2 separate regions of the Homo sapiens genome follow, and region 1 is linked to region 2. The links are contacts of gene promoters, found by promoter capture Hi-C in human tissues and cell types (Jung and others, 2019). All regions are on one chromosome and are shown on one strand. The core of a region is centred on a gene start or on the middle of the fragment in contact, and the rest is flanking DNA. Distances in the headings are between cores, read along the strand shown. Region 1 holds the start of LOC105374608 (a long non-coding RNA gene). Region 2 holds the start of AHRR (aryl hydrocarbon receptor repressor).

What was found. The method cuts DNA at HindIII sites, captures the fragments that hold promoters and counts their contacts. A contact is called where the count stands out against the background at its distance.
Region 1: a contact is called between a fragment that was not itself captured here and the fragment with the promoter of AHRR in region 2, in 1 of the 25 tissues and cell types used here (lymphoblastoid cells).

What each region holds. Positions count from the first base shown.
Region 1 is chr5:595,549-601,203 of GRCh38, reverse strand. It overlaps LOC105374608 (a long non-coding RNA gene), which reads right to left and starts at 413. Exons shown (of 8, transcript XR_007058672.1): 1 at 37-413. The HindIII fragment of the contact is 4,530 bases long and covers 2,003-5,655 here.
Region 2 is chr5:317,503-322,963 of GRCh38, reverse strand. AHRR (aryl hydrocarbon receptor repressor) reads right to left here and starts at 1,250. Exons shown (of 11, transcript NM_001377236.1): 1 at 1,145-1,250. All of the region lies in intron 3 of PDCD6-AHRR (PDCD6-AHRR readthrough (NMD candidate)), which reads right to left. RefSeq lists enhancers at 239-358, 447-1,014, 4,148-4,447 and silencers at 599-658, 669-1,048, 1,139-1,628, 1,779-2,038. The HindIII fragment of the contact is 29,634 bases long and covers 1-5,461 here.

The DNA of each region.
Region 1 (5,655 bases), core at 3,018-5,517, 280 kb before region 2:
GCAATCTCCCCACTCCAGCCCCTGACCCCTGACCACCTTGCTCCTTGGTATCCAGAGCCAGGCCGGAACTCAGGGAGGGCCGCGCCGTTCACTTCTGTAAGGGAGCCTCCGTTCAGTCAGTCATTCAACAAACATGAATCCAGAGCCGCATGCACTGCTGGTCCCGTCCCAGCTGCTGGTCACGGAGCGGAGAAAGCTTGAAGGCCGTGGTGTCTACTGAGAGGCAGATGACAAACCAGGAGCACGAGTCACAGCACACACTGGCGCAGCTGCAGGGAGCTGGGCAGAGCCGGGCCTGGCACATGGGGCAGGAGGCTGTGGCCCTAACGCCATGGTGGGCGCCACAGACCTTGTCAGAAGGGGTCTGAGCAGAGACATTGATTTGGTTTCATTATCATATAGAACAGAATAGAAAACTCAGACATGAAGCTGCACACATACACCCGTCTGGTCTTTGACAAGACCAACGAAAACAAGCCGCGGGGAAAGGACTCCCTGTCCGATAGATGGTGCTGGGATAAGCAGCTCAGTCACAGGCAGAAGAAGGAAACTGGACTCTTACCCTTCCGCATAGACGAAAATCAACTCTAGATGGATTAAAGACTCAAATGCAAGACGTCAAACTATAAACATCCTGGAAGACAACGTCTTCTTGACGTTGGCGTTGGCAAAGAACGCTGGCTAAGTCCTCAAAAGCAATTGCAACAAAAACAAAAATAGACAAGTGATACCTAATTAAACTGAAGAGCTTCTGCACAGCAGAAGAAACTGCCAACGGAGGAAACAGACACCCTACAGAATGGGAGAAAATGTCTGCAAACTATGCATCTGACAAAGGCCTAATATCCAGCATCTATAGGACGCTTACACAAATCAACAAGCAAAAAACAACCCCATTAAAAAATGGGCGGCCGGGCGCGGTGGCTCATGCCTGTAATCCGAGCACTTCGGGAAGCTGAGGCGGGCGGATCACAAGGTCAGGAGATCGAGACCATCCTGGCTAACACGGTGAAACTCCGTCTCTACTAAAAAATATTAAAAAATTAGCTGGGCGTGGTGGTGGCCGCCTGTAGTCCCAGCTACTCGGGAGGCTGAGGCAGGAGAATGGCGTGAACCAGGGAGGAGGAGCTTGCAGTGAGCCGAGATTGCGCCACTGCACTCCAGCGTGGGCTACAGAGTGAAACTCTGTCTCAAAAAAAAAAAAAAAAAGGCAAAGGACATGAACAGATACTTCTCAAAACAAGACATACAAGTGACCAACAAGTATAAGAAAAAATTCTCATTATCAGAGAAATGCAAATCAAAACCACAATGAGATGCCAGCTCAGCAGTCAGAATGGCGATTATTACAAAGTCAAAAAAACAACAGATGCTGGTGAAGCTGAAGAAAAAAGGTGATGCTCACGCACTGCTGGTGGGAACATAAATTAGCCCAGGCCCGTGGAGAGCAGTCTGGAGATTCCTCAAAGATCTTAAAACACAGCTACCATTCAACCTAGCAATCCCATTACTGGGTATATACCCAAAAGAAAATAAAGGATTCTGCCAAAAGGACACATATGTTCATCACAGCGTTATTCACGATAGCAAGACATGGAACAAACCTAGGTGCCCATCAGTGGTGGACTACATAAAGAAAACGTGGTACATATACACTGTGGAATACTACGTAGCCATAAAAAGAATGGAATCGTGTCCTTTGCAGCAACATGGATGCAGCTGGAGGCCATTCTCGTAAGCAAATTAATGCAGGAGCAAAAAACCAAATACCGCATGTTCTTACTTACAAGTGGGAGCTAAACATTGAGGACACGTGGACAAAAAGATGGGAACAAAAGTCACTGGGGCCTCCTGGAGGGTTGGGGATGGAGGATTAAAGAACTTCCTTCAGGTATGATGCTCGCCATCTGGGTGATGGCACCCGTCCTCCAAACCTCAGCATCACACAATATTCTCATGTAACAAATCTGCACGTGTGCCCCTAAATCTAAAATAAAAGTTGAGATTTTAAAAGTAAAGTAAGATAAATGTCATATCAGTTATTCGATCCGTCAAACGTTTCCTTTAACACCTTAAATAGAAACAGTCATAGGTATTGGAAGAATAAAGAATTGGAATGGAAGTCCACAGAGGCAAAATGGGCAAACAATTAACATATGTAAGCAGGTATTTGTTGTTTCTAGTAGGTCTCAATGTTGTTTACACATTTGGTTGGTTGTTTTTGGTGAATATTCACTGGATTCAAGTAAGTGGTTCATTTTCTAATCCCTGGAGTGAAGCCGCTACAAACAGTCGTGTGTAGATTTTCCCGTGAAATAAACTTTCATTTCTCCAGCATGCATGTCCAGGCAGGGGGTTGCTGGATCCCAAGGTAAGCATAGTTGTAACATTAAAATACACTGCCACCTTGTCGTCTGGAGCAGCTGCCGCACGTCACACCCCCAGCAGTGGCACAGGAGAGCCAGGGGCTCCGCGTCCTCGCCAGTGCTGGGTGTGACCACGCGTTTCCTTTTTCCTCGCGCTGTTCTCACAGGTGTGTGGTGGTTCCACACATCAGTGGTGTACATTTTTATTCCCTCGTGGCTGACGATGTCGAGCATCTCGTGTTCTTATCTGCCATCCAAATGTCCTTGGTGAATGAGTTCTTCCCTCTTTTGCCCATTATTCATCTACTCGTGTTGTGTTAAGTGTGTTTGTGTTTCATTCTCTTGGCAGGGCTGTCAGTGGGACTGAGACTTAAACTTCAATTCCCACGTGTTCACTGTTATTAGATAAAAACGCCATTGACACGTGTGTGCCAATCTTGTATCCTGTGACACTGCTGAACTCATGGACTAGTTATAGGTGAGGTTTTTGTGTCTTTTTTGGTAAATTCCTTGGAATGTTCTACATAAACAATTATGCTCTCTGTAAATAGAGATGGTTTTCTTTCTCCCTTTCTTGTCTGAATGCCTTTTATTTCCTTCTCTTGCTTTATTGCACTAGCTGGGACTTTCAGGATGATGTTGGCAAGGATGGGAGTGGGGACCGCCTATCCTCATTCCAGATTTTAGGGAGGAAGTATCCAGTTTTTCACCACTATGTGCGACGTCATCTGTGGGTTTTTAATGGATACATTCCATCCGGTTAAGGAAGTTCCTCACTGCTCCTAGTTTGCTGAGACTTTTTCCATGAATGATTCTTGAATTTTGACATTGTTTTTTGCGTCATTTGAGATGATCGTGTGTGTTTTCTTCTTTGGTCTGTCAATACAGTGGAGAGTGCTGATTGAATTTCAGATGTTTAGCCAGCCTTGCATGCTACTGTCACAATTTATACATTTGCATCTATGTTCATGGGAGATATTTGTACGTAGTTTTGTTTCTTGTACTGTCATTTATCTGGCATTGGCACTGGAGTAATGCTGTTTTCATAACATGAGTAGGAAAGCATTTCTCTTCTATTTTCTGGAGGAGATTGTGCAGAATTGGTAATATTTCTTCATTACCTGTTCATAAAATCTGCTAATGAAACCATCTGTGTCTGGAATTTTCATTTTCAGAAAGTTTTTCTGCTATGAATTCAATTACTTTAATACAAAAGGGTTGTTCAGGCCATCTATTTCTTGTTGAGTGAGTTTTGGTAGTTTGTGGCTTTTAAAGAATTGGCTTATTCCTTCAAAGTTGTCAGATGTATATGCAGGGAGTAGCTCATAATGTTCGTGCATTGCCCTCTTAATGTCTGTGGGTCAATAGTGATATATCCTCTTTCATTATTGATACTGGAAATTTATCTCTCTTTCTCCCTTGCTAATCAGTCTGGTTAAAGCTTTATCAATTTTACTGATCTTTTCAAAGAACCAGCCTCTAGTTTATTGATTTTTCTTTGTTGTCTTTCTGTTTTCTATTTCATTGGTTTCTCTTATCTTTATTCTTTCCTTCCTTCTGCCTGCTTTCAGTTTAATTTGCTCCTATTTTCGTAATTTCTTAAGGTGGAAGCTTAGATTGTTGATTTATAATTTTCTTCTGTTTTTAATATTAGCATTTCTTTTCTAACTAAATGCTTGTAGGGCTATAAGCATTTAGTTCTATAAATTTCTCTCTAAGCACTGTTTCATTTTGCTATATTTTTCATTTTCATTCAGTTCAAGTGATTTCCAGTTTTTCTGAGCCATTCTCCTCAACATTTGCATTGTCTAAGGAGTGTGTTGTTTAATTTCCACCTATTTGGAGGTTTTCTAGGCATTTTTATATTATTGATTTCTAGTTTAACACCATTGTAGGTTTTTTGTATTTTAAATTTTTTCACATGCATTTTATGACCAAAAAGAAAGTGTATGTAGATGTTGTTTGGCAGAACGTTTTATAAATGTTAGTTAGGTCCAGTTGGTTCCTGGAGCTGGTCAGTTCTTCCATATCCTGCTAATTTACTGTCCACTTTTCTATCAGCTACTGAGAGAGGAGTTGTTATGGACTGAATTGTGTCCCACAAAATTCACATGTTGAAGCCCTAACCCCCAATGTAACTGTATTTAGAGACAGGGCCTGTAAGGAGGTGATTATGGTTGCAAGAAGTCATATGAGGGGGTCCGATTCAATAGGACTTATGTCCTTACAAGAAGATGGAAAGAAGCCAGGAATCATTCACTCTCCACACCAGCACAAAAAAATACCATGTGAGAACACTGAGAAGTCAACCCCAACAGCCTTCATCTTGGTCCTCCAGCTTCCAGAATGGTGAGAAAACAAATTTTTGCCCTTTAAGGCCCCAGTCTGTGGTATTTTGACATGGCAGCCCTAACCAACTGAGATGGGAATGTTGGGGTCACCAATTCCAGTATGGAGCTGCCTGTTCCCTTTCAGGCAGCTCTATCGTCTTTGTCTTGTGTGTTTGGAAGCCCTATCGTTGGGTGCATATGTGTTTAGGATTACTAGGTCTTCTTGGGGAGTTGATCCTTTGTCATTATGCAACGTCCCTCTTTACTCTTAGGAATTTTCCTTGCTCTGAAATCTACTTTGTCACTCCAGTTTTTTTAATTGGTGTTTGCTTGGCATATCTTTTTCTATCCTTTTATGTTTAATCTGCCTATATTTTGTATTTAAAGAGGGTTTTTATAGACAGCCTGTAGATAAGACTTGCCTTTATCCAGTCTGATAATTTCTGCCTTTAATCAGTATGTTTAGATCATCTACATTTATATTCATTACTGATGTGTCTGAATTTAGGTCCAGCATTTCTTGCATGTCCTCTATTTGGCACCTCTGATTTTTTCTCCTTTTCCCCTTTGCATGTCTTCTTTTGGATTATTGGGATATTTTGTGGTATTTCATTTTGATTTATCTAATGGTTTCTTGAATTCTATCTCTGTGTATTGTCATTCTAAGGATTGCAATATACATTCTAACTCCTCCTCACCTTGCCAGTCTATGCAGAATTAATATTTTACCACTTCTGGCTGGAATGCTGGGACCTTGTCCCCACCAAGGCCCCTTCACTGTGCCCTTTGTCACAGTCATCGTATTGCACCTGCACATATTGAAAATTCAACCAAGCAATGTTGTTAATTGTTGCTTTCAACCATCATATGTACTTTAAAGACTCATCTACATGCTGTCTACAAGAAACTCATTTTCAATGTAATGATACAGACTGTTTCACAGTCAAAGGATGGGAAAA
Region 2 (5,461 bases), core at 1-2,500:
CTAAGAACCTTTCTCCCGTGGTAAAACTCGTGTCTGTTCATTTTAGAGAATACAGATAAGTAAGAAAACGAAAATAAAAGCCGTTCCCCAGGCGGTGGCGTCCCCCCCGTCGAAGCGGCTCCCCAGGCGGCGGCGTCCGCCGGGTCAGCATCCTACGTTCTCCAGTTCTTGTTACTCGTGGCTTTTCAGCGACTCTGGGGCCGCATCGAGCCCCGGCTTTGTGCGGGATGGGTATGGCACACTCGGCCCGAGTCCAAACGCCGCCAGTCACTTGCTCTGAGAGGCTGGATGAGCGACCTACCTTGATGTCCTCGTTCGTAAAATGGGTGACGGTTGCCAGGCCGGGGCGGCTGTGAGGCCCCGTGGGGGTGGCGTTTGGAGAACGCGCGCACACGCCCACCCTTCTGCAAGAACCCCGCAGACGAGAGCCTGTGCGCGCGCACAGGAGGCCCAGGGAGGAAGCCCCTCCCCGCCTGCCCTTGCCATCCCGGAGGCCACAGCCGGACAGGCCCGTGGGACAGGCCCGTGGGACGCTTCTGCACAAGGTCTCTGACCTCCGGCCTCGCAGAAGAGGTCAGAGGGTGGCCCCTGCCTGTCACGCGCCCATGGCGACCCCTCCCCAGAAGGGGTCCCAGCGTGGACTCCAGGCGCCACATCGCTCTCTCAGGGCATCCGGTCTGGGAATTCTGGCCGCTCAAAATAAGACTTCAGCGCTACTGGGTGCTACTGAAACCAAGCCTGAACATGGGCCTTTCCCGGGGGTGAGGCCCCCCGGACCTGGCGCCCTCGGCCCGACAGCGGGGCCCCGCTCCGCCGCCCGCACCCGCCCAGCCCCAGGGAGCGCGGCCCGCACGGAACGCCCGGGGAGTGAAGGCTCAGAACACTCTCGAGGGGACGCTGAGGACCACGAACCGTGGACGCGCCGCGGCTTCCCTCCGAGGTCCGAGTTTTAAGTGAGACCAGCCAGCCGCACCCCAGAGTGTCCGCCCCGTCCCGGGGCCGCCGGGCCTGGCGACGCGAGGATGCGGCGTGAGGAGGGTCCCGACGCCGGCGCCCGTCCCTCAGCCCCACACCCGGGAGCGCATCCCGTCTCCACCGCGGGCGGCACGCGGCGGGGGCCTGCGGGGGCGCCCAGGACACTTACCCAGGGCCTGCGGGGCGCGGAGGCTCAGGCACACCCGCGGGGCAGCGCGCCCTGGCCAGGAGCTGTGGCGGCGGGTGCCGGCGCTCGCATCCCGGGAACCCGCGGCGGCTCCAGGGACTGCCCCACCCCGGCACGCGAGCCGCCCGCCCCGCCCCGCAGCATCCAGGGCCGGGAGGCGGCAGAGGGCGCCCGCGGGTCCGGCTGTCTCGGGTCCGGCTGCCCCAGCTGCCCTGGCGAACCGGAGACGCCATCCGGTTCCCCTGGGGTCCGCCCTGCGCCCTTCGCGTCCCAGTGATCCCCCGGAGTCTCCGTGCCCCGAGGCGGGGGTCGCGCGCTGAGCCCCTCCAGGCCCTGCGTTCCCCCTGGGGTCTGTGTGCGCCCAGGGTCCCCCGGTTCTCCCTGCGCCCCCGTCCCCTCCCCAGCGCTCGCGGCCGGCTGTGCTGAGCTGCCGGCCCTAGAGCCGGGCGGTGTAGACCCGAACAGGTAAAGTGAGGAGAGCGTGTGCCCCCTCGCCTGCCCCATGAGGTCGTTTCGAAAATGTAAAAGGAGTCATGGTTTTTGGCGAATTATAGAGAATATTAAGATGCTTTTGGATCCTGAGCTTCCCAGGAAGCGGACGCGCGCCAGGCACGGCAGGGTCGTCCGTGCGACGTTCTTCGTCCTGGGCATTTCAGGGTCCCACGCGGCAGGTGTGCGGCCCTGGGTGCCCCTGCCCCGCCCACCCCGCCGGTCGGCACCCGGGACCGCGCGGCCGAGAGCAGGGTCCTGCCTGCAGGTCCTTAGGGCTCACCCCGCGCCCTCTGCGCGCCCGCCGGCCCCTCCGACCTCGGGCTGCGCCTTCTCCTTCCCCCTCCCGGTGGTCCTTGGCCCCCTCTAGTCCTCCGTCCGGGCGCGCAGGCCCTGGCTGAATTCCCTGTACCCTCAGGGGATCCCTGGGGACACCTCAGCCTGGCCTCGCACCCTGACGTCTCCACAGACCCTGGCCGGCTTCCACCCGTTCTCGCCCTCGCTGGGGCCGGCCATGGAGTCGGTGGTCCCTGGAGTCCGCTCCTCAGCATCCGCGGTCCTCATCCCAGCCGGGGGAACCGCGCCCTCTTCATCCCGCAAGGTCGGTTTTCAGCAACGCGGCCGAGGCTGTCACTGGCGCCCCCAGGTTCTCAGTCAAACCCCGTCTCCCTGACGCCCCCAACCCGCCCCGCGCCTCCTGCTGTTCTCTGAATAAGGCGTGCGGGCCTTGGGGCCTTTGCACTCGCTGTCTGCTGTCGGCTCAGGAAAAGTCTCTTTTCCAGACACAGCTCCCAAGGTGGGGTGGGCGCAGCTGAGAAGCCCACCCTGCCCCCAAGTGGCCACCGCCCCTCCCCGGGTGTAGCTCCTGCAGGGCAGCCCAGAATTGCTGAGTTCTGCCGCTCTGTCCCCAGGGGTCACCAAGTCGGCTCTGCTCACCTCTGGTTCCTGTCGAATAGCAGAGGCTCAAAAATGTGAGCTGAGTAAATGGGCTTTTTTGGGACAGAGTCTTGCTTTGTCACCCAGGCCTGAGAGCAGTGGTGCGATCTCAGTTCACTGCAGCCTCTGCCTCCAGGGCTCAAGCGATTCTCGTGCCTCAGCCTCCCAAGTAGCTGGGATTACAGTCGCGCGCCACCACACCTGGCTAATTTTTTTTTTTTTTTAAGTAGATAGTGGTTTTGCCATCTTGGCCAGGCTGGTCTCGAACTCCTGACCTCAGGTGATCCACCCACCTCGGCTTGCCAAAGTGTTGGGATTACAGGCATGAGCCACTATGCCACTGAGACAGCCAGGAGCCCTGGGTGCACACATTTATTTTTTGATATGGAACAATGTGCAACTATATTGCTGTATTTTTAAAAATCATTAGTTTTATCTTGATCCAATTTTTGTAAAGTGAATTATGCACAGAAAATGTGTAGCTGGATAACTCTGAGGTAACAGGTGAACTTTAATTTCTTTTTACTTTTTGAAAAGTCTACAATTCCTGTAAATTTTTGCAAGAAGCACATAGTACCTTTGTGATCTGTTAAAATAAGAACCTGTGGGTAGAATGTGATGGTGGTGAGCCGCAGTCCCCCTGCATGGGAAGACAGCACCCCCATGTCTCAGGGCAAGCACGGGTTCCCTTCCACCTACCCTGTCCCACCAGAACCAACTGGAATGAGACACTTTGTTACTCTATTTCCTGGGTACAGAAGGAAACTGCTCCTCCTTCCTTCCCACTGCCCTTGACCGGCACAGGCCATCCACGCCCACCTGTCCCCTGTGCTTGTCCCCAAAGTCTCAGGTCTCTGCAGGACCTGGGGCAGCCAGTGGGACTGTGCAGAAAAAGGATGACCCTGCCGTGGGAGCCACTGCCCCTAAAGTCTCAGGGTTTAGCAGGCAGAGCCCCACGTGGAGTCCTGGAGTCTCTGGGCACCCCACCAGCACAATGGGGGATCCCTGAGCCACCTCCCGTTCAGACGGGCTATTGGGCGTGCCTCCCTCCCCACCACGAAGGTCCAGATGCAGCTGACACCCCCAGTCACAGAGTCTCCTTTCTGCCTCTGTGCTGGGGACCCTGTTCAGGAGGTCTCCTCCCTCCAGTCCGGACTTGCTGTCCCCAGTGTCATTGAACCCTCTGGCTCCCACCCACACTCCCAGCAGCTGGAGACACACCCCTTTCTCCTGGGCCACTGGTCCTCTCGGGACTCTGAACCAGAGGCGCTAACACCTGGCAGGGATGGCAGCTGGGGCAGGACTGGAAGCCTCCGAGGACCCACCCCCAGCTCCGGGTACCCCCACACTGGAGTCTGGTGCGGTGGGTCCCCAGAGCCATATGAGCTGGACTTGGCCTCCAGTGGACCGCCACATGGCAGGTGCCCACGGCCGGCTGCAGCGCCAGGCCCCTCCCAAACAGGCCCAAGTTGGCTTCACAGAAGTGTGGGGGCAAAGCTGCTCTTCATGGGCCTCCAGGAGTGGTGACTGTGACTGCCCCCTCCTGTCCTCTCCTGGCCACACCTTTGCCTCCCACAGGCAGGCCAGGTCAGGAGCCCCCAGGGCCCTGACCTCAGAGGCAGACAGGGGTGTGCTGACCCCTCGGGCCAGGCCAGGACCCCGCACAGGCGCCTGCGGCTCTCTGGCTCTCTGATGGCGGCTGGGTTTCCCGGGTTCCCCGGGTTCCCCATGACTGCTGTGTCTCCAGCGTTGATGCCTCACAGGGAGCCGCTTGGGCAGCCCTGGTCACGCCTGGGTTCCCTCTCTCTCCCACACCAGTTTCTCCCTGGTCACGCCTGGGTTCCCTCTCCCACACCAGTTTCTCCTGTAGCACAGAGAAGGACCTGGGGAATTTTGTCTTTTGTTAAAAACCACAAGGGAGCTCCCTGCTGGGCACAGTCACGGTGGCGCCCGTCAGAGCTGCTTCCAGGGTGCATTCCATCATTCCAAGTTCACTGTGCTGGAGTCAGCTCTCTGCTTGCCGCAGGGTGAGGGGGGGAGGTGGAGGGTGAGGGGGGAGGTGAAGGATTGGGGGAGGTGCAGGGTTGGGGGGAGATGCAGGGTGGGGGGAGGTAAAGGATGGGGGGAGGTGCAGGGTTGGGGGGAGATGCAGGGTGGGGGGAAATAAAGGATGGGGGGAGGTGCAGGGTTGGGGGGAGATGCAGGGTGGGAGGGAGGTAAAAGATGGGGAGAGGTGCAGGGTAAGGGTGGGAGGTGCAGGGTGCGGGGGGGAGGTGGAGGGTGAGGGGGGAGATGAAGGGAGGGGGGAGGTGAAGGATTGGGGGAGGGAAAGGATGGGGGGAGGTGCCAGGTGAGGAGGGAGGTGAAGGATGTGGGGAGGTGCAGGGTTGGGGGGAGATGCAGGGTTGGGAGTAGGTGGAGGGTGAAGGGGGGAGGTACAGGATGGGGGGAGGTGCAGGGTGAGGGGCAGGTGCAAGGTGAGAGGGGAGTTGAAGGGTTGTTGGGGGAGGTGCAGGGTTGTGGCGGGGAGGTGCAGGGTGGCTGTTGGGGGAGGTGCAGGGTTGTCCGGGGAGGTGTAGGGTTGTGGGGGGAGATCAGGGTAGGGAGGGTGGGGAGGCATGGGCCAGGGGCCCCAGGTGAGGGTGTACGGCGTGCACCTGCACCTCCATGTCTGCACTGATGACTGAGGACCCAGAGCGGGGGGAAGGAGAGGCCCCCAGAGATGGCTGTGCCCCCATGTCCTGCTGTCTTGGGTCTTGGGACCGGGGTCGTGACGCTGAGGGTCCCTGGTGGGTGGTCGTGGCCGCTGGCCTGGCCTGGCCTCCGCGACCCAGCCTCACCACACTGGGCCTGCGCCAGGCACCTGGTCAGCTG